Regions from separate parts of the Homo sapiens genome. Here all the other regions are linked to region 6. Evidence: promoter capture Hi-C in 16 types of primary human blood cells and fetal thymus (Javierre and others, 2016). All regions are on one chromosome and are shown on one strand. The core of a region is centred on a gene start or on the middle of the fragment in contact, and the rest is flanking DNA. Distances in the headings are between cores, read along the strand shown. Region 1 has its middle 1.6 kb from the start of G3BP2. Region 2 overlaps RCHY1 (ring finger and CHY zinc finger domain containing 1). Region 3 holds the start of UTP3 (UTP3 small subunit processome component). Region 4 overlaps RCHY1 (ring finger and CHY zinc finger domain containing 1). Region 5 has its middle 4.2 kb from the start of USO1. Region 6 holds the start of COX18 (cytochrome c oxidase assembly factor COX18). Region 7 overlaps RUFY3 (RUN and FYVE domain containing 3).

Evidence for each region. Contacts are between HindIII fragments. The CHiCAGO score rates a contact against its expected background, and 5 or more counts as called.
Region 1: a contact is called between a fragment that was not itself captured here and the fragment with the promoter of COX18 in region 6, in 2 of 17 cell types (total B cells and non-activated CD4 T cells). The highest score is 7.3, in total B cells.
Region 2: a fragment that was not itself captured here is called in contact with the fragment with the promoter of COX18 in region 6 in 1 of 17 cell types (total CD4 T cells); the score reaches 5.2 in total CD4 T cells.
Region 3: the fragment with the promoter of UTP3 here is called in contact with the fragment with the promoter of COX18 in region 6 in 10 of 17 cell types (non-activated CD4 T cells, activated CD4 T cells, naive CD8 T cells and 7 more); the score reaches 16.3 in non-activated CD4 T cells.
Region 4: a contact is called between a fragment that was not itself captured here and the fragment with the promoter of COX18 in region 6, in 1 of 17 cell types (total CD4 T cells). The highest score is 5.0, in total CD4 T cells.
Region 5: a contact is called between a fragment that was not itself captured here and the fragment with the promoter of COX18 in region 6, in 2 of 17 cell types (non-activated CD4 T cells and fetal thymus). The highest score is 8.6, in non-activated CD4 T cells.
Region 7: a contact is called between a fragment that was not itself captured here and the fragment with the promoter of COX18 in region 6, in 2 of 17 cell types (total B cells and naive B cells). The highest score is 7.0, in total B cells.

The regions. Positions count from the first base shown.
Region 1 is chr4:75,673,663-75,676,382 of GRCh38, reverse strand. It overlaps a transcript of G3BP2 not described here. Among named protein-coding and RNA genes, the nearest start is that of G3BP2, 1.6 kb to the right of the region's middle. RefSeq lists enhancers at 182-1,158, 1,159-2,136. The HindIII fragment of the contact is 4,310 bases long and covers 1-2,720 here.
Region 2 is chr4:75,491,107-75,493,857 of GRCh38, reverse strand. It overlaps RCHY1 (ring finger and CHY zinc finger domain containing 1), which reads left to right. Exons shown (of 9, transcript NM_015436.4): 5 at 1,925-1,969; 6 at 2,076-2,134; 7 at 2,221-2,247. Among named protein-coding and RNA genes, the nearest start is that of RCHY1, 22 kb to the left of the region's middle. The HindIII fragment of the contact is 819 bases long and covers 1,076-1,894 here.
Region 3 is chr4:70,687,122-70,689,821 of GRCh38, reverse strand. It overlaps UTP3 (UTP3 small subunit processome component), which reads right to left and starts at 1,290. Exons shown (of 1, transcript NM_020368.3): 1 at 1-1,290. The coding sequence starts at 1,144. RefSeq lists enhancers at 1,165-1,224, 426-1,394, 1,925-2,014, 1,395-2,365. The HindIII fragment of the contact is 6,672 bases long and covers 1-2,700 here.
Region 4 is chr4:75,508,952-75,511,805 of GRCh38, reverse strand. It overlaps RCHY1 (ring finger and CHY zinc finger domain containing 1), which reads left to right. Exons shown (of 9, transcript NM_015436.4): 2 at 2,510-2,629. Among named protein-coding and RNA genes, the nearest start is that of RCHY1, 4.0 kb to the left of the region's middle. The HindIII fragment of the contact is 2,019 bases long and covers 511-2,529 here.
Region 5 is chr4:75,718,990-75,721,689 of GRCh38, reverse strand. It overlaps a transcript of G3BP2 not described here. Among named protein-coding and RNA genes, the nearest start is that of USO1, 4.2 kb to the left of the region's middle. The HindIII fragment of the contact is 5,465 bases long and covers 1-2,700 here.
Region 6 is chr4:73,068,302-73,071,010 of GRCh38, reverse strand. COX18 (cytochrome c oxidase assembly factor COX18) reads left to right here and starts at 1,295. Exons shown (of 6, transcript NM_001297732.2): 1 at 1,295-1,694. The coding sequence starts at 1,362. It overlaps LOC112268467 (a long non-coding RNA gene), which reads right to left and starts at 1,065. Exons shown (of 2, transcript XR_002959797.2): 1 at 982-1,065. RefSeq lists enhancers at 944-1,460, 1,007-1,526, 1,461-1,976. The HindIII fragment of the contact is 3,732 bases long and covers 553-2,709 here.
Region 7 is chr4:70,752,256-70,755,213 of GRCh38, reverse strand. The region is part of intron 1 of RUFY3 (RUN and FYVE domain containing 3); the gene reads right to left. Among named protein-coding and RNA genes, the nearest start is that of RUFY3, 32 kb to the right of the region's middle. The HindIII fragment of the contact is 253 bases long and covers 1,335-1,587 here.

The DNA.
Region 1 (2,720 bases), core at 119-2,618, 2.6 Mb before region 6:
TGACAGAGCGAGACTCCATCTCAAAAAAAAAAAAAAAAAAAAAAAATTATTGGCAATTGGCTGTCAATAAATTGGTGTGAGAAAAAGAGGTTTTTGGCCTGAGCCACCGAATGAATACCGTTCACACTGGTCTCCCTGCCTAGTCTATAGGAGGTGGACATTGCTTCATGGAGGCTATGTTTGAGAGGCAGGGAGATTAGTTAGGAGGCCACTGCAGTCTTCCTGGGAAGATGAAGGGGCCTGAACCTGGGCAGGGGCTATTTGTGTAGAGATATGTTTATGAGGTAAAAATCGCCAGTTAGAATAGGTTAGAGATATTTACTTAACATTGAAGATCGCTGAATCTTTTTTCCCATTAACTCCACTTATTGGTGTCTACTCAAGAGCAGGGTTACCTGAGGGCTGTTTCTGTGTAGCTCTAGAGCTAAACTAAAAATGTTTCTTAAATTTTTAAAGGATGCGAGAGAGAGAGGAATATGCAACAGAAACCATACGTGGCGCTCAAAACCAAAAATATTTACTATCTAATCCTTCCCTTATCAAACCGTTTGCCCACCTCTGCCCTAGATCAGTGGTGTTTGTTTTTTTTGAGACGGAGTTTTCACTGTTGTCACCCAGGCTGGAGTGCAATAGCGCGATCTCAGCTCACCGCAACCTCCGCCTCCCAGGTTCAAGCGATTCTCCTGCCTCAGCCTCCCGAGTAGCTGGGATTACAGGCATGCGCCACCACGCCCGGCTAATTTTGTATTTTTAGTAGAGACGAGGTTTCTCCATGTTGGTCAGGCTGGTCTCAAACTCCTGACCTCAGGTGATCCGCCCCCCTCGGCCTTCCAAAGTGCTGGGATTACAGTCGTGAGCTGCCGCGCCCGGCCTATATCAGTGGTTTTTAAAGTGTGGCTCCTAGAGCAGCAGTAGCACCATCAGCTGAGAACTTGTTAGAAGTGCAAATTCTCGGGCCTCTGTTGAATCAGAAACTTAGGGAGTGGGGCCCAACTATCTGTTTTAACAAGCCCTACAGGTGATTTCGGTGCACATTAAGGTCTGAGAACCACTGCTCTAGAGAAAGTTCTGCACCTCTGCAGGATACATGGTGAAGAATATTTATAATAGCATTGCACGGAAGAGCTCCAAACCGGAAACACTTGAAGGTTAGTCAGCAGTAGGGCAGATAAGTGAATTGCGGCAATTAGTACAATGGGAGTATTCTATAGTTTGCCTGAGGGTATGGACTGTGGAGGCAGATTGCCTGTGTTTGAATCCCAGCTCCAGTGAATAGTAGCAGTGTAGTCCTGGGTAAGTTACTTGACCTCTCCAAGCCTGTTTTCTCATCTATAAAATGGGCATAAAAATAGCAACTACTGGCCGGGTGCGGTGGCTCACGCCTGTAATCCCAACACTTTAGGAGGCCAAGGCGGGCGGATCACGAGGTCAGGTGTGTTCGAGACCAGCCTGGCCAACATAGTGAAACCTCGTCTCTACTAAAAATATAAAAATTAGTTGGGTGTGGTGGCATGCGCCTGTAGTCCCAGCTACTAGGGAGCCTGAGGCAGGAGAACCGCTTGAACCCGGGAGGCGGAGGTTGCAGTGAGCCAAGACCGTGCCATTGCACTCCAGCCTGGGCGACACAGAGAGACTCCATCTTAAAAAAAAAAAAAAAAAAAAAATATATATATATATATATATATATGTACATACATATAGCAACTAGCTCATAGGGTTACTGTGAGGCTCAGAAGGCTGTATAATTACAAGAATGCCTGGTATATAAGCCCAGTATATTAAAGGACAGCCGGCATGTAATGTATTTTGATGCTTTAAGGAAAAACATCAGGTTGATTTCATTAAAGTGATGGTCTGCCCAAATATTTTGCATATAACAGTATCTTTAAGCAGTCTAAAGGTAAAGATATTGTAGACTTTGGAGGCCCTAATGTTGGCATTGCCTCTGCCAATATTTAAGGTATTTGACGTATTGTCTTAACATGCCAAATACCTTAAAATTGCCCTTACAGGATTGCGAAGAAAACTGATGAGATGTACATGCTTGCGTCCACCATGTTTAGTTCGTAAGCATTCATTAATGTATTTTTTCCTTTCCGTTTCTTTGAACACTTCCTCAGTCCTTCATTCCAAAATTCCTGTGCTATCTCGGTATTCTCTGAAAACACTGCCAGACCTAAGATGCAAAGTGGCTTCCTTGACTACAAGATTTGGCTTGGCTTTGTCCATGAAACAAGGTCACCAGTGTCTCACCCTGGGGGCAAGTCTGGGCTTAGAGCTAGAACAGGACTGTAATCCTTGTATTTCAGGCCTTCTTTTAGCTTTAGTATGTAAAATGCTTTAGTATCTACTGATATTTAGCCATGCCTAAATTCGTAACAAGGACACAAAGAAATAGTCTTTTCCCCCTCTGTAAAGCCCACGTCATGTTCTTCCTTTACTGCAGGGCCTCTTAATGGGGCTTAAAACCTAGGATGGGTTAAGTAAACAATGTAGGTGAGTTTAGTGTGCAAACAGCTGAAATCACCGGCTGCATTTTAAGCTCGTCTACAGCAGCAACCTGCAGACACCTATTCAGAGAGATTACTAAATTCCCTCCTTCCCATTAATAAAAAGGACCAGAATATCAGTCTACAAAAGACACTGCGTTGCTGCGAACCAGCTCTCGCTTGCGCGATCAGGAAGAAGGGCGGCAAGGCTGGAGCCTCGGGACCGGAGAA
Region 2 (2,751 bases), core at 236-2,735, 2.4 Mb before region 6:
CAACTTCCAAGTTAGTTTATGGATTCTTACCATTGGTACTGCTTTTAAGAATAACTTTAAAACAGGAGAAATACTGAATGGTGTAACCTAATTAGCACAACATTCTAAGAAAATTCAGAAAATATTTTACTATTTCTTTTTATAATTAAGACATACATATTTTAAATCTGGATGTAGGAATTATGTCACAATCCCAGGCCCTTTTTCATTATTTAAAAAAAAATCTAATAAAGTATTACATTATAGTACTGATTCTATCTACTGTAAGAATTTAATTAAGAGAATGGAGGATTGGTGTAAAGTGAAGTGTAAATCGTACTTGTTCAAGTATAGGAAATTCCAGATAAGGCAGAACAGTATAAGTAGCAACATTGTAGCTGTTGAGAGAGAGAGAGACAGATAGACATTAATTGGAAAGAGACTGTTTGAAATCATTTACTTAGCAGTATAGTAGGTTCGATAGAATATAAGAATAAGAAGTTATTGCAGAAATATAATATTAGCTAGAACTTGGCCTAAATAGTAAAGTGGTGAGGAAAATTGAGATGAATAATGAACATATATGATGTGGTAATGGTATTAAGGAAAAAGAATGAGGCAGAGTAAAGATGACTCTGAAGATTTTCAGCCCCAGCTTAAGGTACTTGATTAGTAGATTGTAAATTTTTTGAAGATAAAAGATTGAGTTTGGTTTTTAAACTTGAGTTTGGGGTGATGGCAAGCTATGCTAATGGAGATAGCCAGGAGTCAATAGTATCTTATAGATTACATTTCTATGATGTTCTGGTTTCCAAAGCATGTGTAGTGTGTGTGCACACACTAATTCATTGCATCCTCACCTCAGCATTTACATTCCATCAACTCAGAGATGCCACTGATGATCAGATATGTTGTAATTGTGGGGATGTTAAAATGTATGTGTGAGGTGCACTTTAGAATCAAATGAAATATGTATTAATTTTATTTTATAAATAAGAAACGTTAAGACTAAAGTGGTGGCTAGTCCAAAATCTCAAGGGCTGGTAAATAGCAGAGCTAGGATTACAGTCTAGATTTTTAAACTTACTATTAAGCTTATTATTTTGAGGGTTTTTCTCCCCACTATACTGTCATCTTTCAAAAACTTACATCTATTTTTTTGTTATGGTTTTTTTTGTTATGTTGTTTTTCAGTTATCTTTTATTGTCTATATTACTAAGTGGTCCTGCCATCTATTAAGTGCTTCCGTTAAAAACCTGGGAGTCTTCCATGGCACAGTGCTTTCCCTTACCTCCTTGGATTTAATCAGACATTACATCTTGTCAAATTAAGAACTCTGGCTCTGAAGTTAGCCTGCTGGAGCTCCAGTTTAATTCTGCCTCTTATTAATGTGTGACTTTGGAAGTTCCTTAGCTTCTCTAGGCCTCCACTGCTTTAACTGTAAAATGGTATAACAATCATAGCCTATTTCATCTAGGATTGTGAGATTTAATTGATCTTATACAGGTACTGTGCTGAACATGGCATGTAGTAAATTTCAATAATATGAACTATTATTACCAATATTATTAGTAAGTTGAGCTTACTAATTTAGGTCACTGGCTTTGGAGTAAAACATACATAATATGCAAAGGTTCCAAATCTTATTATCTTTGGATCTTGGGTAAGTGTCTTGAATTCCTAAGTCACTTTCCTTATTTGTGAAATGAAGGTAATCTCAATAATGTTTATTGACATTTTCATTGTATCAGATAATATGCCAAGCCTGAAATAGTGTGAGATTTAAATAACTATTAAAAAACTCTTCTTACATATAAAAAGCATATATTAATGTTAGCTATTATTTTTAGTAAGTTGGTTTTGTTAATTTTTATTATTAATATTTTTATACCTGACATTTTAATCTAGTTAAGCTTTTGTTAATGTGAATTTCTCTTTTAAACAGTGTATTGAAAATGTGTCCCGACAGAATTGTCCAATATGTTTGGAGGTAGGCTTAAAATATTTTTTACTTTGGAAGTCTCAGCTCTTGAATTTAAAATACTTGGATGTTTATATTGTCTTCATACAAGCACTAACATTTATTTCATTTACAGGACATTCACACATCCCGTGTTGTTGCTCATGTCTTGCCATGTGGACATCTTTTACATAGGTAAAGTAACATCTTTTTCTCAATGATGTTTGAAAATAGTGGAGACAGTTTTTGTTTTACTAAAATAATCTTATATTTTCTTTCAGAACGTGTTATGAAGAAATGTTGAAAGAGTGAGTGTTTGGGATTTTAAAAATAATTGTAAGATGTTTGACTTTTTTGTGTGTGTGGTGTGGGGAGGTGGACAAACATTGTTACTTATACTATATTGGGCATGGCAATATTTATATTGAAATGGGTAGGGTAGATGAATATTGTTAAAACAGGACAAAGTGTCTTGGATATAGAACTACACTTTTGCCATATGTTTCTCTTAAATCTTGTCTCCTCCCACAATTTGAGGTAGTTACCTCTTTTTTTTCTGGCCATATATACCAGGAAGTGCAGTTTTTGCCAGATGCAGTTATAGTGTTGTAAAAATGCTGAAAAATATTGCCAAAAATTTGTTAGGTTGTTATATTGGCCAAGTATAGTAAACTAAAAGAAAGTAGGTGAAGTGATCATTAAAGCTAAGACTTTATTAATGGAAAAGATATTAAAATTAGATGAAAATAATTGAAAAGAGAAGACTGTATTTTGGTCCTACATATTGATGAGCAAAAATGTGAAGAGCTAGA
Region 3 (2,700 bases), core at 41-2,540, 2.4 Mb after region 6:
TTTCTTTATAGTACTTCAGTTTTGCTTTTTCATCAAAATCAGAATCATCAGAAAGATCTGTAACAGCACAGGCAGCAGCAGAAGTCTTTGAAACAGACTTTGGTTTGGGCTTGGTGGATTTTGCTTTTGGAATCAGTTCTTTCTTTACAGCATCATCCTTAAGTGTCAACAGATGACGAATTTCTGAGGACAGCTTCTGATCCACAACGGACAGCTTGTTGATCAAATTTCGGTAGGTAACAAGCCTTTCTATGACAGGATGTCCATGTGCTGGGACTCTCCTAGCTTTCAGGATCAAATAAAAACTGATGTTCGAGCAATAATTCAAGTAGAGGTTGTACTTGGTCCTCAAGTATTGGCTTCCTTTTCCGGGTGGAATGATCCCTTGTTCCACCAACTCTAACAATGGCTCCAGCTCATCCTTAACCTCTGTCAACTTGACTTTCAGGTCTTCTATCAGCTCCAAGAGTTCTGGTGATTCCTTTCGCAACATTTTCAGCTTCTCTTTCACTGAAACTTTAGCCAAATCCTTCACGACCCGTGTCTCAGCCTCATCTACCTGAGGCACTGGTTTTGCAAAGGCCTCAACCCAGGCGACACCAAAATCATCCTCTTGCAGCGCTTGGGCTAGGCGCCGCTGAATGATCTGTGCCTCCTCCTCCTCCTCTCTTTCCTCCTCCTCTGCCTCCTGTTGACTCTGCCGGCCTCGGGACTTGGAACCATAGTCCGTGTCATAGTAAAGTTTTTTCCTCTGACCCCACGACAAACTGGGATCCACAGAGGCCTCAGCTTCACTTTGCACGGAGCTCCCACCATCATCATCGGCATTCTCCTCCTCCTCCTCCTCCCCCGCATTCCCTCCATCTTCGTCGTCCTCATCGTCCATATCTAGGGCTAGCACCTCCTCCTCCTCCTCCTCGCCATCCTCCTCGTCTCCACTCTGTACTTCATTCCAGCCCTTAGCTAAGGCGGCCCGGGATCGTGCCTCATGAAAGTCATCTACCTGATCTTGGTAGTAGCTGGTGTCCCCTGGTGAGGGTGGCAATCCTAAATCATCTCCATTTTCGTCGGTGAGCGTGGGACCTGCCTTGGCTCGCACAGCTGCCCACTTAGCTGCTCCGCGCCGCCGGGATCTCCCCACCATGGCTCACAATCTCAGGTTTTACAGCGACTCCGGACTTTCGGCCACCACTGACTTCGGCGCAGGAATCAGGCGCTCCGGTAACTCGTGGCTCTAAACAGCAGCGCGCTCCCCTACCACCGGAGTTTGCAGACTCCTGATCGGCTACTGGAATTTCCTCTTCCTTCCGGCCCCCAGCATGCTCTCCGCGTGGCGTACGATTGAGGACTTCCGCTCGGTCCCTTAGTCGAGATCACGTTGATACCAACTTCCTTTTCACTGTGCCCTTTAACGCCAGTCGATTCCGGTGAATTAAAATCTTTCCGTGTGGAAACGATAGGATAAGGAAGTTCCGTTCCACAGAACGCTTTCTCGGGCTAATGCGCTTACTCTCGAGTGCCTGGGAGTGGCTGGGGGACGGAATCCTGACGGCACCTCCAGGCGAGGTCCCGATGGCCAATAGAGGGCGCTGCGCTTTACGCCCCGGAGAAGTCCCGGGGGCGTTCCATTGAGGTTTAACTGCGTGTGTACCCGGCGCTTGCGACCGGCAGTCTAGTGCTAGCGTAGTTTTCCTGCTCCCTTGTTTTCTCTTTTCTGCTTATCAGGCTGGAAGTTAATCAGATTGCTTTCCTCTCATTTCACCCCCACCCCCAATACCATATTTCTGGGTACCACAGCCTCAGGCAGCGCCGCTGGACTCCAGAATCCCACGGGAGGTTTCCGGGCGAGAGCGCAGGCCGGGCCTCCGGCTCGGGTTTACTCATCCCCATCGCCCTCTCCCTGCTCACAGGGCTCGGTGACCCGCTCCATGGGGATCGATAAAGCTAGATGACCCCGAGGCTGACAGTGGGAAGGCAGAGCCCCGCTGCAGGGTCTGACTCTTCTCAAGGAAGTCTGCCCTGTAATGTTAGAGTAATTCAGGGTGTAAGTTTTTAGGCATTACATATGTAAGGTTCAGGGTTAGTATTATTATACCTTTTAATGTAGGTAGTTGGAAGCTGAACTTTTGATACGTTGCTAAAATTAATGGTGACATGGCTGGGCGCGGTGGCTCATGCCCATAATCCTAAGCACTTTGGGAGGCCGAAGTGGGTGGATCACTTGAGGTCAGGAGTGCAAAACCAGCCTGGCCAACATGGGGAAACCCAGTCTCTACTACAAATACAAAAAATTAGCGGGGCGTGGTGGCGGGTACCTGTAATCCCAGCTACTCGGGAGGTTGAGGCAGGAGAATCACTTGAACCCGGGAGGCGGAGGTGGCAGTAAGCCGATATCGCACCACTGCACTCTAGCCTGGGCGACAGACAGAGACTCTGTCTCAAAATAAATAAATAAATAAATAAAATAAAATTAATGGTGACAATTTCTTTTTCTTTTGTTTTTTGTTTCTTTTTTCTTTTTCTTTTTTTCTTTTTTTTTTTTTGAGACGGAGGCTCGCTCTGTTGCCAGGCTGGAGTGCAGTGGCAATCTCGGCCCACTGCAACCTCCGACCCCCTGGTTCAAGTGATTCTCCTCCCTCAGCCTCCCGAGTAGCTGGCATTACAGGCACGCGCCACCACTCCCAGCTAATTTTTGTATTT
Region 4 (2,854 bases), core at 271-2,770, 2.4 Mb before region 6:
GTTGACACACGCATTGATGGTGGAAAAGCACTGTTTAGTATTGCTAGTATCTTAGCTTGAATCAAGACAGTGGCACTGAACTATACTACACCTATAGTTTTTTTAAAAAGCCAGCTTCACTTAAAAATGTTGATAAAGCAGTAAAATCGTTAATTTTAACCAAATCTCAACCCTTGAATATATCTTTTAATATGCTGTTCAATGACATGGGAAGTTTTGATCAAACACTTCTGCAAACTGAAATTAGAGGGTTGTCTTGAGGAAAAGCTCTTGTGCAAATTGGATTGTAAAGTGAACTAGTTGCTTTTTTTCATGGAACAGCATTTTTTACTTGAAAAAATTGTAGTCATTCACATTTGGGTAGTTGGCAGACATTTTCTCAAAAAGGAGAAAAGTGAGACTCACTACAAATGAAAATGACAGTATTTGTTGCCAGTGATAAAATTCAAGCTTTCACACAAAAATTAGAATTTTGGAAAACTTTTACTAGCTTTTGTGAGGTTGGAAGCTTTTTAAAAGACTTTTTTTGGTGAGATTTTCTTCAATACCTAAAGACTTTTAATGAATATGATTTTTTGATATTGCATGTTAAATGTGTGAACATTTAGAAGATGTAAATAACTCACTGAACTGGTATTCTCCAGATGACCAATGCATGAGTAAAACATCCATTTGAAGTGCAAGATAGAGCAATAGATTTTAATGTAACCAAGGAAGAAAAGAGGCATCATATCAATCATATTCCTTGATACGATTTCAGATTTCATGTTGCAACTACCCTTTAAGAGTTGTTGTTCTAGTGTAATATCAGAGAATGATATCCATAATTCTCCAAAAAGGCTATTAAAATACTCCTTTCTTTTCCAGTGTACATATTTGTGTGAGGCCAGAGTTTCTTTTTGTACTTCAGCCACAACTGTTTGAATGCATAAGCAGATAGAAGAATTCAGCTGTTTGGGGGGAAAAATATAGTTATTTTTCATTAAAACATGTTATTTATGTTAACAAGTAATGAGTTTGTTACTTTTAAAAAGAAGTAATATTTTAAAAACCTATTCTTTTTAATTTATGATGTGGTATATGTCAATAGATAAAATCCACATAAACCAAAGCTCTTTGGGATTCTCAGTAATTTTAAAAAGTGTGAAGGGATCCTGAGACCAAACCATTTGAGAACTACTGTTCTGCGGTATAACTATGAGAATAGTGGGTTGGAGGACAAGGTTATTGGAAATGACAAAGTTAAGGAACTGAGAGTTGCAGAAAAAGGAAGCCAGTTAAGTGTTAAAATCTTTAAGGAATGAACTACGTTATGGTAAGTCAAGGCATAGGAAGCCTTCAGAAATGAGTGGATCTGCAAGGTCACAGTGTATTGGAAAGTCACTGGCCTGGAAATCTCTTGATATACTTGTAATGGTAAAGTTGCTGTAATGAAAAAACCCAACAGTGATGTAGATTAAAGAGTAAAGGTTTTATTTCTTTCCATTTAACAATTCCAAGGCGAGTGATGCAGGTTGGTGATGAGGCTTTGCTCCACATGGTCACTCCAGGGATGAGATTTTTCTGTTGTATCATTTTGTCATGTTTTAGGGCATGTGGCCATCTGTCTGATATAGCTGAACAATTGTGCCCAGGAAGGAGAGGATAGATTTTGGTGGACAACTGGCAGTCTTTGCCGTGTTTGAAAACAAGGGCTGTCTCTTACATTTGTTGCATTTTGTGCAATATTAGATATGAGGTTGATGATTAATAAAAGCTAGTAAAATAAGAATATAATCTTTATTATTTTTAATGTAAATGAATTTATCTGGAAATGTCTAAGAAGAGGTTGCCTGTTTGCTGTTTAGGCTCAGAATGAAATTGGGGTGTTATATTAGTCTGTTTTCACACTGCTGATAAAGACATACCCAAGACTGGGAAGAAAAAGAGGTTTAATTGGACTTACAGTTCCACATGGCTAGGGAGGCCTGAGAATCATGGCGGGAGACAAAAGGCACTTCTTACATGGTGGTGGCAATAGAAAATGAGGAAGAAGCAAAAGTGGAAACTCCTGATAAACCCATCAGATCTCATGAGATTTTATTCATTATCACGAGAATGGCACGGGAGAGTCTGGCCCCCATGATTCAGTTACCTCCTTCTAAGTCCCTCCCACAACACGTGGGAATTCTGGGAGATACATTTCAAGTTGAGATTTGGGTGGGAACACAGCCAAAGCATATCAGGTGTTGTGGGATTAGTGTTTCAATCTAGGGATTTCCTTCATAATTCTTTTGTTTTAAAGTTGTGTTCAACTTCATACAGACGTAGTGATGTTGAAGGGAAGAATTAACATAAAATATGCCAAGAAACTAGTGAAATGTTATGTTTAGGATCAGTTTAGCAACTGATCTATTGGTTGTAATCTTTCAGTTCCATCCAGGAGGAGGAGGAAGAAATTTTCTTTTTGTATTGCACACTTAGTTTCTTTTGCTTCTTACTATATCTCTTTTTTCTCCGTGGGTGTTAGGCACCTTGCTGTGACAAGCTTTATACTTGCCGCTTGTGTCATGATAACAATGAAGATCATCAACTAGATCGCTTTAAAGTGAAGGAAGTGCAGTGCATAAACTGTGAAAAAATTCAACATGTAAGATTTTATGACATTTCTATTTTCTTTTTAAAAGCTGTATTAAGGTGGTTTGAAAAAATTTAATCAAAAGTATCATAAATAAGATTTCTTTAACTTCTAGAATAAGCAATATCTTTGGTTTAGGTGTTTCAAAACTTATAAAAATAAACTGCATATAGTTGAACATAAGTTCTAGATATTCAAATGGTAACTCAAAATGTTTAGTTTATTGCAGTTTTTAAT
Region 5 (2,700 bases), core at 96-2,595, 2.7 Mb before region 6:
GGTGGAATGTTGTCTATGCCTGCTTGGGAGGATAAATATAAATGATCATTTGTATTTGAAATCTATCATATATAGGTTTTTATTTATTTATTATTTTGGTAGGTTATAAGCCCCTTCAGTATCGTATATAGGTTTTTAAAGACGTAGCTCATGGCTATAATCCCAGCACTTTGGGAGGCCAAGGTGGGAGGATCATTTAAGCTCAGGAGTTCAACACCAGCCTGGGCAATGTGGCAAAACCCTGTCTCTACAAAAAATAAAATATTAGCTGAGCATGGTGGCATGCGCCTGTATTCCCAGCCAGTAGTCCCACTTACTTGGGAGGGTGTGGGAGGATCGCTGGAGCCTGGGAGATCAAGGCTGCATTGAGCCATGATTGTGCCACTGCATTCCAGCTGGGAGGATGGAGTGAGACCCTGTCCCAAAAAAAAAAAAAAAAGACTAGTTGAGGCTGGGCGAGGTGGCTCACGCCTGTAATCCCAGCACTTTGGGAGGCTGAGGTGGACGGATCACCTGAAGTTGGGAGTTCCAGACCAGCCTGACCAACATGGAGAAACCCCGTTGTCTACTAAAAATACAAAATTAGCTCGGCGTGGTGGCACATACATCCTGGAACTCCTGGGTTCAAGAGCTCTTCCTGCCTCAGCCTCCTGAGTAGCTAGGACTACAGGTGCACACCATCATGCCTGGCTAATTTTTTTTTTTTTTTTTTTTTTGTAGAGATGAAGTCTTGCTATGTTACCCAGACTGATGTCAAACTCCCGGCCTCAAGCTATTCTCCTGCCTCAGCCTCCCAAAATACTGGGATTGCAGGTGTGAGCCAACTGCCCCAGGCTTCAAAATATTTTTATTTATTTATTTATTTATTTATTTATTTATTTATTTATTTATTTTGAGATGGAGCCTCGCTCTGTCACCCAGGCTGGAGTGTAGTGGCGCGATCTCGGCTCACTGCAACCTCGGCCTCCCGGGTTCAAGCGATTCTCCTGCCTCAGCCTTCCAAGTAGCTGGGAATAGAGGCACATGCCACCATGCCTGGCTAATTTTTTGTATTTTTAGTAGAGACAGGTTTTCACCGTGTTAGTTAGGATGGCCTCGATCTCCTGACCTTATGATCCGCCTGCCTCAGCCTCTCAAAGTGCGTGAGCCACCGCGCCTAGCCCTCAAAATATTTTTTTTTTTTTTTTTGAGACGGAGTCTCGCTCTGTTGCCCAGGCTGGAGTGCAGTGACGCGATCTCAGCTCACTGCAAGCTCTGCCTCCTGGGTTCATGCCATTCTCCTGCCTCAGCCTCTGGAGTAGCTGGGACTACAGGCGCCCGCCACCGCGCCCGGCTAATTTTTTGTATTTTTGGTAGAGACGGAGTTTCTCCGTGGTCTCGATCTCCTCATCTCGTGATCCGCCCGCCTCGGCCTCCCAGAGTGCTGGGATTACAGGCATGAGCCACCGCGCCCGGCGCCCTCAAAATATTTTTAAAAGCCTTAGGAAATCCTTGGGAGAGGAGAGTCCAAGAAAGAAGGTTTTGGTAGCTGGGCGTGGTGGCCTATCATTCCAGCTATGCGCAGGAGGCTGAGGCATGAGAATTGCTTGAAGTTGCAGTGAGTCAAGATTGTGCCACTGCACTCCAGCCCAGGTGACGGAGTGAGACCCTTTCTCAAAAAAAAAAAAGGGTTCTGGGCCCCCCCATCCTGCTCCATTTGATTGGTTTCATTTGTTTATACTTCCTGTTTCGCTTGAACAAAAAGATTCAGAGGCTAAAATGTTGGACAGCTACCTCTCTCAGGAGATAAGAAATGAGACCAGGCCGGGCACGGTAACTCACCCTTGTAATCCCAGCACTTTGGGAGGCCGAGGCGGGTGGATCACCTGAGGTCGGGAGCTTGAGACCAGCCTGACCAACATGGAGAAATCCCGTCTCTACTAAAAATACAGAATTAGCCGAGCGTGGTGGTGCATGCCTGTAATCCTAGCTACTCGGGAGGCTGAGGCAGGAGAATCGCTTAAACTGGGAGGCGGAGGTTGCAGTGAGCCAGGATCTTGCCATTGCCCTCCAGCCTGCGCAACAAGAGCGAAACTCCGTCTCAAAAAAGAAATGAGACCAAGGTAAGGACTTGGAATAGTTGAGGTGTCTCACATGCTATAGAGCCCAGAGTTCCTGCTTTACTTTTTTTTAAAGGAATGGTAATTGTTGCCTCCTGTGGTTGTTTTTGGGATTTTATTAGATAATATCTGTAACGTTCATATTACTTAGTACTTGAAACATAGTAAGTACTCAATAATGATTAGAGTGGAGACCCTGATCATCTTCGGTATTATCAATTTCTTTTTTTTTTTTTTTTTTTTGAGACGGAGTCTTGCTCTGTCGCCCAGGCTGGAGTGCAGTGGCGGGATCTCGGCTCACTGCAAGCTCCGCCTCCCGGGTTCACACCATTCTCCTGCCTCAGCCTCCCAAGTAGCTGGGACTACAGGCGCCCGCCACTAAGCCCGGCTAATTTTTTGTATTTTTAGTAGAGACGGGGTTTCACCGTTTTAGCCGGGATGGTCTCGATCTCCTGACCTCGTGATCCGCCCGCCTCGGCCTCCCAAAGTGCTGGGATTACAGGCGTGAGCCACGGTATTATCAATTTCTTAACAACTGAACGTTTAAAGATATTACCCTGTAAGTCTTCAACTCCAGCCCTACTAGCTCATGTTACTGAGA
Region 6 (2,709 bases), core at 46-2,545:
AGCAAAAATAACTTTAAAATTCTGTTCAGATTATGAACAGCTGAACAGTAGTCAGTAGCAACTGATGGCTTTTTTGTTAGCTTAATAAATGGATAAAGAAATAGATTGGTAGGTTTTTCTTTTAGAAAAAGTTTATATATAGTGTGTGTTGTGCTGTGTGTTTAAACACATTTAAAAATTCATGTATAGATTTATCAGTCAGTTTGGAAAGCAGATGAATTCCAGAATCCTGAGAAAGTTATCGTAGGGTACCCTTGGTTAGGTGCACAGTGAAGGGCAAACAATAGCTGGCGTTTGACATTACCCAACATTGTTGGAGGCTTCTTTTCCTAAGTAAGTAAATAAATAAATAAATAAAAATCAAGGTTTACTCCTCACAACATATTTTAGTCTGTAGTCTAGGGGTGACCCTTCGGTGAGGAAACTCCTCCACAACATTCCATTTTGTTGTTTCCAGGAACACAAAAGTTAAAACTATATAGTCCATGTAGATTCAACGTATTCCTTTAAACCAGAAGACAGCCAGTGCTGCTGTTCAGGCTCTTTAAAGCTTATATAGGATACAAGTAAACTCAAGGAATTCACCGTACTGCCAGTGATAGTTTCCCTTAAATAAAGAGATGATACTTTTACTATAAGATTTTTGCTGCTATTTATCATGGAAGACAAAACACCGAAGAAATTCAGTTTGCAGTTGGTGGTCCAAATACTAACTGGAACAGATGGGCCAATTAAATCTACAAGAGACTGAACTATCCCTCGTGCTTAACACTCAGAGTCAGCAAGAAACATGCGTCTCTCTACAAGCAGGTACTTTAGCAACGTGTGACTCTTGAGTATGATAATCTATCGTAATCGCTAACGGAAGCAATCAGGTGCACGTAAAGAGGTTGGGGATCAGCTTCTGGTCACAAAAAACCGAGCAAGGATAATTCCACTACAAATGACTATTAGCTTTAGTGAAAAAGAATGGTAAGTTACACGGTGTAGATGAACTTTACAAGGCGAGAGCTCCCTAAAGAACACCCAGCCTGGCGGAGGGCAGCAGGCTCCACCCATGTCTCTGCAGTTTTGGTCCGGCCTCGGACTAACTACACCCTAGCAGCGGGAAACTTTCGCGTGTGCGCAGTAGGCCTGTCCAGTGCCGCGTGGGAAAGGCGGGACTTTCCTATCTCTTGCGTCACATCCACTGCGACGCAAGACGTCACCGGCTTGACTGGGAAGGTCAATCGCGGCTGCAGGCAGGCGCGCATGCGCTTTATGCCCGCTGTTGCTGGCGCGTGCGCGTATCAGCCTTGGCTGGCCGGTGTATGTCCGCTGGATTGTGAGGCCCGGGATCTGGGCTCCGCCGTGGTGCAGAAATGCTGTGCCGGCTCGGCGGTCGGTGGCTGCGGCCGCTCCCTGCCCTGCAGCTTTGGGCTAGGGACCTGCCGCTTGCGCCGGTTCCTACGAGCGGCGCCAAGCGCCCCACTCTCCCAGTGTGGGCAGTGGCACCAGTCTCTGCAGTACATGCGAACGGCTGGTACGAGGCCCTGGCCGCGTCTTCGCCGGTGCGGGTTGCGGAGGAAGTACTGCTCGGCGTGCACGCCGCCACGGGCCTGCCCTGGTGGGGCAGCATTCTGCTCTCCACCGTGGCCTTACGGGGTGCTGTCACGCTGCCTTTGGCAGCCTACCAGCACTACATCCTGGCCAAGGTGAGGGGCGCCGAGCCGTGCGCGTACCCTGCGCTGCAACCCCTGCGGCGGAGGAAGGCCGACATTCACTCAGGGTTTTCGATCGCACGATGTTGCCTTCTGCAGTGCTTAGTGTTTAATCATCGTGACCATTTCATTGTGACCATTTTAGCGTTAAAAAAAATTGAACTAGCATTAGGTGTGTTAAATAAGATACTTTGTGACACGTGTACCTGTCATTTCTTTTGTCTTACTGGATTTGTGCTCCAAGCACAAGTGGTTACTATACTTGCTCTCGGGGAACGGAGACAAAGAAATCAGTCGCAGAAGAAATTGTGTTGGCGAAACCTACAAAATTTATGTCTTAAAAGTTTTAATAGCCAGTATGTCTGCAGTGTCTTTCGTCCCAAAGTATTCCAGCTGGTCTTTCTTATTAGGAAGAAACTACTAGACTAACAGTTTGCGAACTTGTTTCCTCTCCAGACCCGACTAAGACTGTGTCTGGTTGGTCGCAGTTACTTGACCTTTTAATGCTGAATCCTTTTTTCTGAGGAATCAGGCTAGCAGTACCTTCCTTGCCTACTTCACAGCGTTATCAGAGCAAGTCAGATAATACGGGTTAAAGTGCTTGATTATTCAAATGGGATATTTCAAAAATAGTGGCTTTCTTGTTTTCAGGTTGTGAGCATGGGGAAAAAAAACCGGAAACAAAACAGGAACGGAATCAGCAGCAACATTAAGGCAGTGAGCCATTTTACAGGAAGAATGAGCACAGGGCAGGAATAAATGCTATTTTTACTTTTGATTTGTGGCTATCACAGTGTATTAAAGGTTCTTAACAAACTGCTGTTTTCTCCGCTTACGTTACTAGGAAATGTAGAGATGGAACAGTAAAGCCCAGGGTGCAGTTCTTATCTAATATTTGTAACCCTGTGAAGTAGGTGCTGTTATATATTTTATATGTGAGGGAACATGATTTTAGAGGTTAAGTTACTTGCACAGGATCACATGGATAAGTATGCATTGTGAATTTGGT
Region 7 (2,958 bases), core at 212-2,711, 2.3 Mb after region 6:
AAGATGTGTAAAAGCTTTTGGCTGGGCGCAGTGGCTCACGCTGGTGGCTCACGCGGTGGCTCAGGGAGGATCATCTGAGGTCAAAAGTTTGAGACCAGCCTAGCCAACACAGTGAAACCTCGTCTTTACTAAAAATACAAAAATTAGCTGGGCATGGTGGCAGGCGCCTGTAATCCCAGCTACTAGGGAGACTGAGGCAGGAGAATCGCTTCAACCCGGGAAGCGGAGGTTGCAGTGAGCCAAGATCACACCACTGCATTCCAGCCTGGGAGATAGAGTGATACCCCCGTCTCAAGAAAAAAAGAAAAAAAAAAAAGCTTTAATATGAGATTAAAAACAACAAACTAACAGAAACATATAGAAAGAAAAGCTTACTCTATGTTGGGAATGACTGAAGAACAATAATTTTAAATAAATCTATTTTGAACTTTTGCAATAATTGTTCTTAGAGTATAAAACTGGACAGAAAATGAGTCCTTGATTGTGAAAGAAAGAAGTGAAAGTACTAAAAAGACCTTAGCGTATAAAACTGGACAGAAAATGAGTCCTTAATTGTGAAAGAAAGAAGTGAAAGTACTGAAAAAGACCTTGTAATAAAACACCATTTAGTTAGCCTGATGACACTTATTTGTATGAGACAATCATGAACTTTTATTCTATCCTCATTTACAAAAAAAAAAAAAAATTATAATAGAGTCTTAGGACCCTTAGAATATCTATATATCTATATCCATAACTATATCTATCTATTCTTAATGGCGTCTCAGGTATCATATTTCTACTCAATAATAAGAAAATTTACTTAAGTAACATTTTCTCTGGATTGAAATCTGTTAAAGGGGTTAGTCAAAAAAATTAACCAGCCAGGCTTGGTGGCTCACACCTGTAATCCCAGCACTTTGGGAGGCCGAGGCAGGTGGATTACCTGAGGTCAGGAGTTCGAGACCAGCCTGGCCAACATGGGGAAGCCCCATCTCTACTAAAAGTACAAAAGTTAGCTGGGTGTGGTGCCAGGCACCTGTAATCCCAGCTACTCAGGAGGCTGAGGCAGGAGAATCACTTGAACCCGGCAGGCAGAAACTGCAGTGAGCCAAGATTGTGCCATTGCACTCCATCCAGCCTGGGCGACAACAGCAAAACTCCATCTCGAAAAAAAAAAAAAAATTAACCATAAATTTACTTGTCCTCATTGCTACCTTTTCTTGGTAACAGTATAATCAATGATGAACTTCACTGAGTTAGGACTTGTCATCAGAAAGGATTAATATACTCATCCATGGAGCCAATTAACCTATTATATGACTTCAGGCAAGAAATCTCACCCCTTTGAAGCTTCAATTTCCTCATCAGTAAAATGAGAGGGTTGGGCTTGTTCAGTTTTTTCCCTTGGAAACCATGCACATTCATAATAGTCATAATGACATATAGCAGCACTGATTCTCAAAGGGAGAGACATATTAATATACCTGGAACCAGAGAAATGACATGTTCTGTTTGGAAAATCCCACAAATGATTGATACCAAATGAACTAGATCCTTTCTACTCTCTGGTCTCAGAACATCAACACTGGCATAACCAGGAAAGCTTTTAGACAAGGGAAGCTGTAGACTTCAACACTACCACTGAATCAGGTTTTGCACTTTAACTAGATCCCCAAGCAATCTGTATGTGCATTAAAGTTTGAGAAGCACTGGCCTAGATCACTCTCCTAGCTAGCATATTATAATTCCATGATTTCACAGTTGGCTTCATCAAGGGCAACCAACATACATGTATATAAGTAGAAAGCCCTAGGAGGAAGGAAATAATAAAGATTAGATCAGAAATAAATTAAAAAGCAAAAACAACTACTGAGAAAAATCAATAAAATCCAAAGTTGGCTCTTTGACAAGATTAACAATACTGACATTTAGCTAGACTGATCAGTAGAAAAGGGAGAAGATTCAAATTACTAAAATCGGGAATGAAAGAGGGGACAGTAGTATTGACATTACAGAAACAAGGATTATAAGGGAATACTACGGACAACTGTATGTCAACATATTAGATAATCTAGACAAAATGGACAATTTCTTAGACACAAACTACCAAAACTGACATAAGAAGAAATAGGAAATCTGAACAGACCTACAAGTAAAGATCCTGAATTAGTAATAATAATAAAAAAATAGCATACAGAGGAGGCCAGGACCAGATAGTCTCGTTGTTAAAATCTACCAGTCATTTAAGGAATTGACACCAATCCTTGACAGACTATTCCAAAAATTAGAAGAGAGAACTTCCGAACTCATTCTATGACACTAATATTACCTTGAGACCAAATCAGATAAAGATATCATAAGAAAACTATAGATCAATACTCCTTATGAATACAGACACAAAAATCCTTAACAAAATACTGGTAAACCAAATCCAGAAACATATAAGAAGGATTATATAACTGGACCAAGTGGGATTAATCACAGAATGCAAGGTCGGTCCAACACACAAAACTCAATCAGTGTAATACACCAAATTAACAGAGTAAAGAAAGACATCACATGGTCATTTCATTAGAAGCAGACAAAGTACTTGACAAGTTCCAATATCCATTAATGATAAAAACATTCAACAAACTAGGAAGAGAAAGAACTTCCTTAGCTTGACAAAGGGCATCTACAAAAAACTCACAGCTAACAAACTTGATGGCAAAAGACTGAAGGCTTTCTCAAAGATCAGGAACAAGACAAGGATGCCCACTTTTGCTACTTCTAACCAAATTGTATAGGCGAGTCTTGCCAGGGCAAGTAGGCAAGAAAAGGAAATGAAAGGCATCCAGTTTGAAAAGGAAGAAGTAAAACTATATTTGCAGATGACATGATCTTGTATATAAAAAATCCTAAGGAATCCACACACACACACACAAAGTATGTACATAAAATGAGTTTGGCAAGGTTGTAAGGTACAAGATCAATACA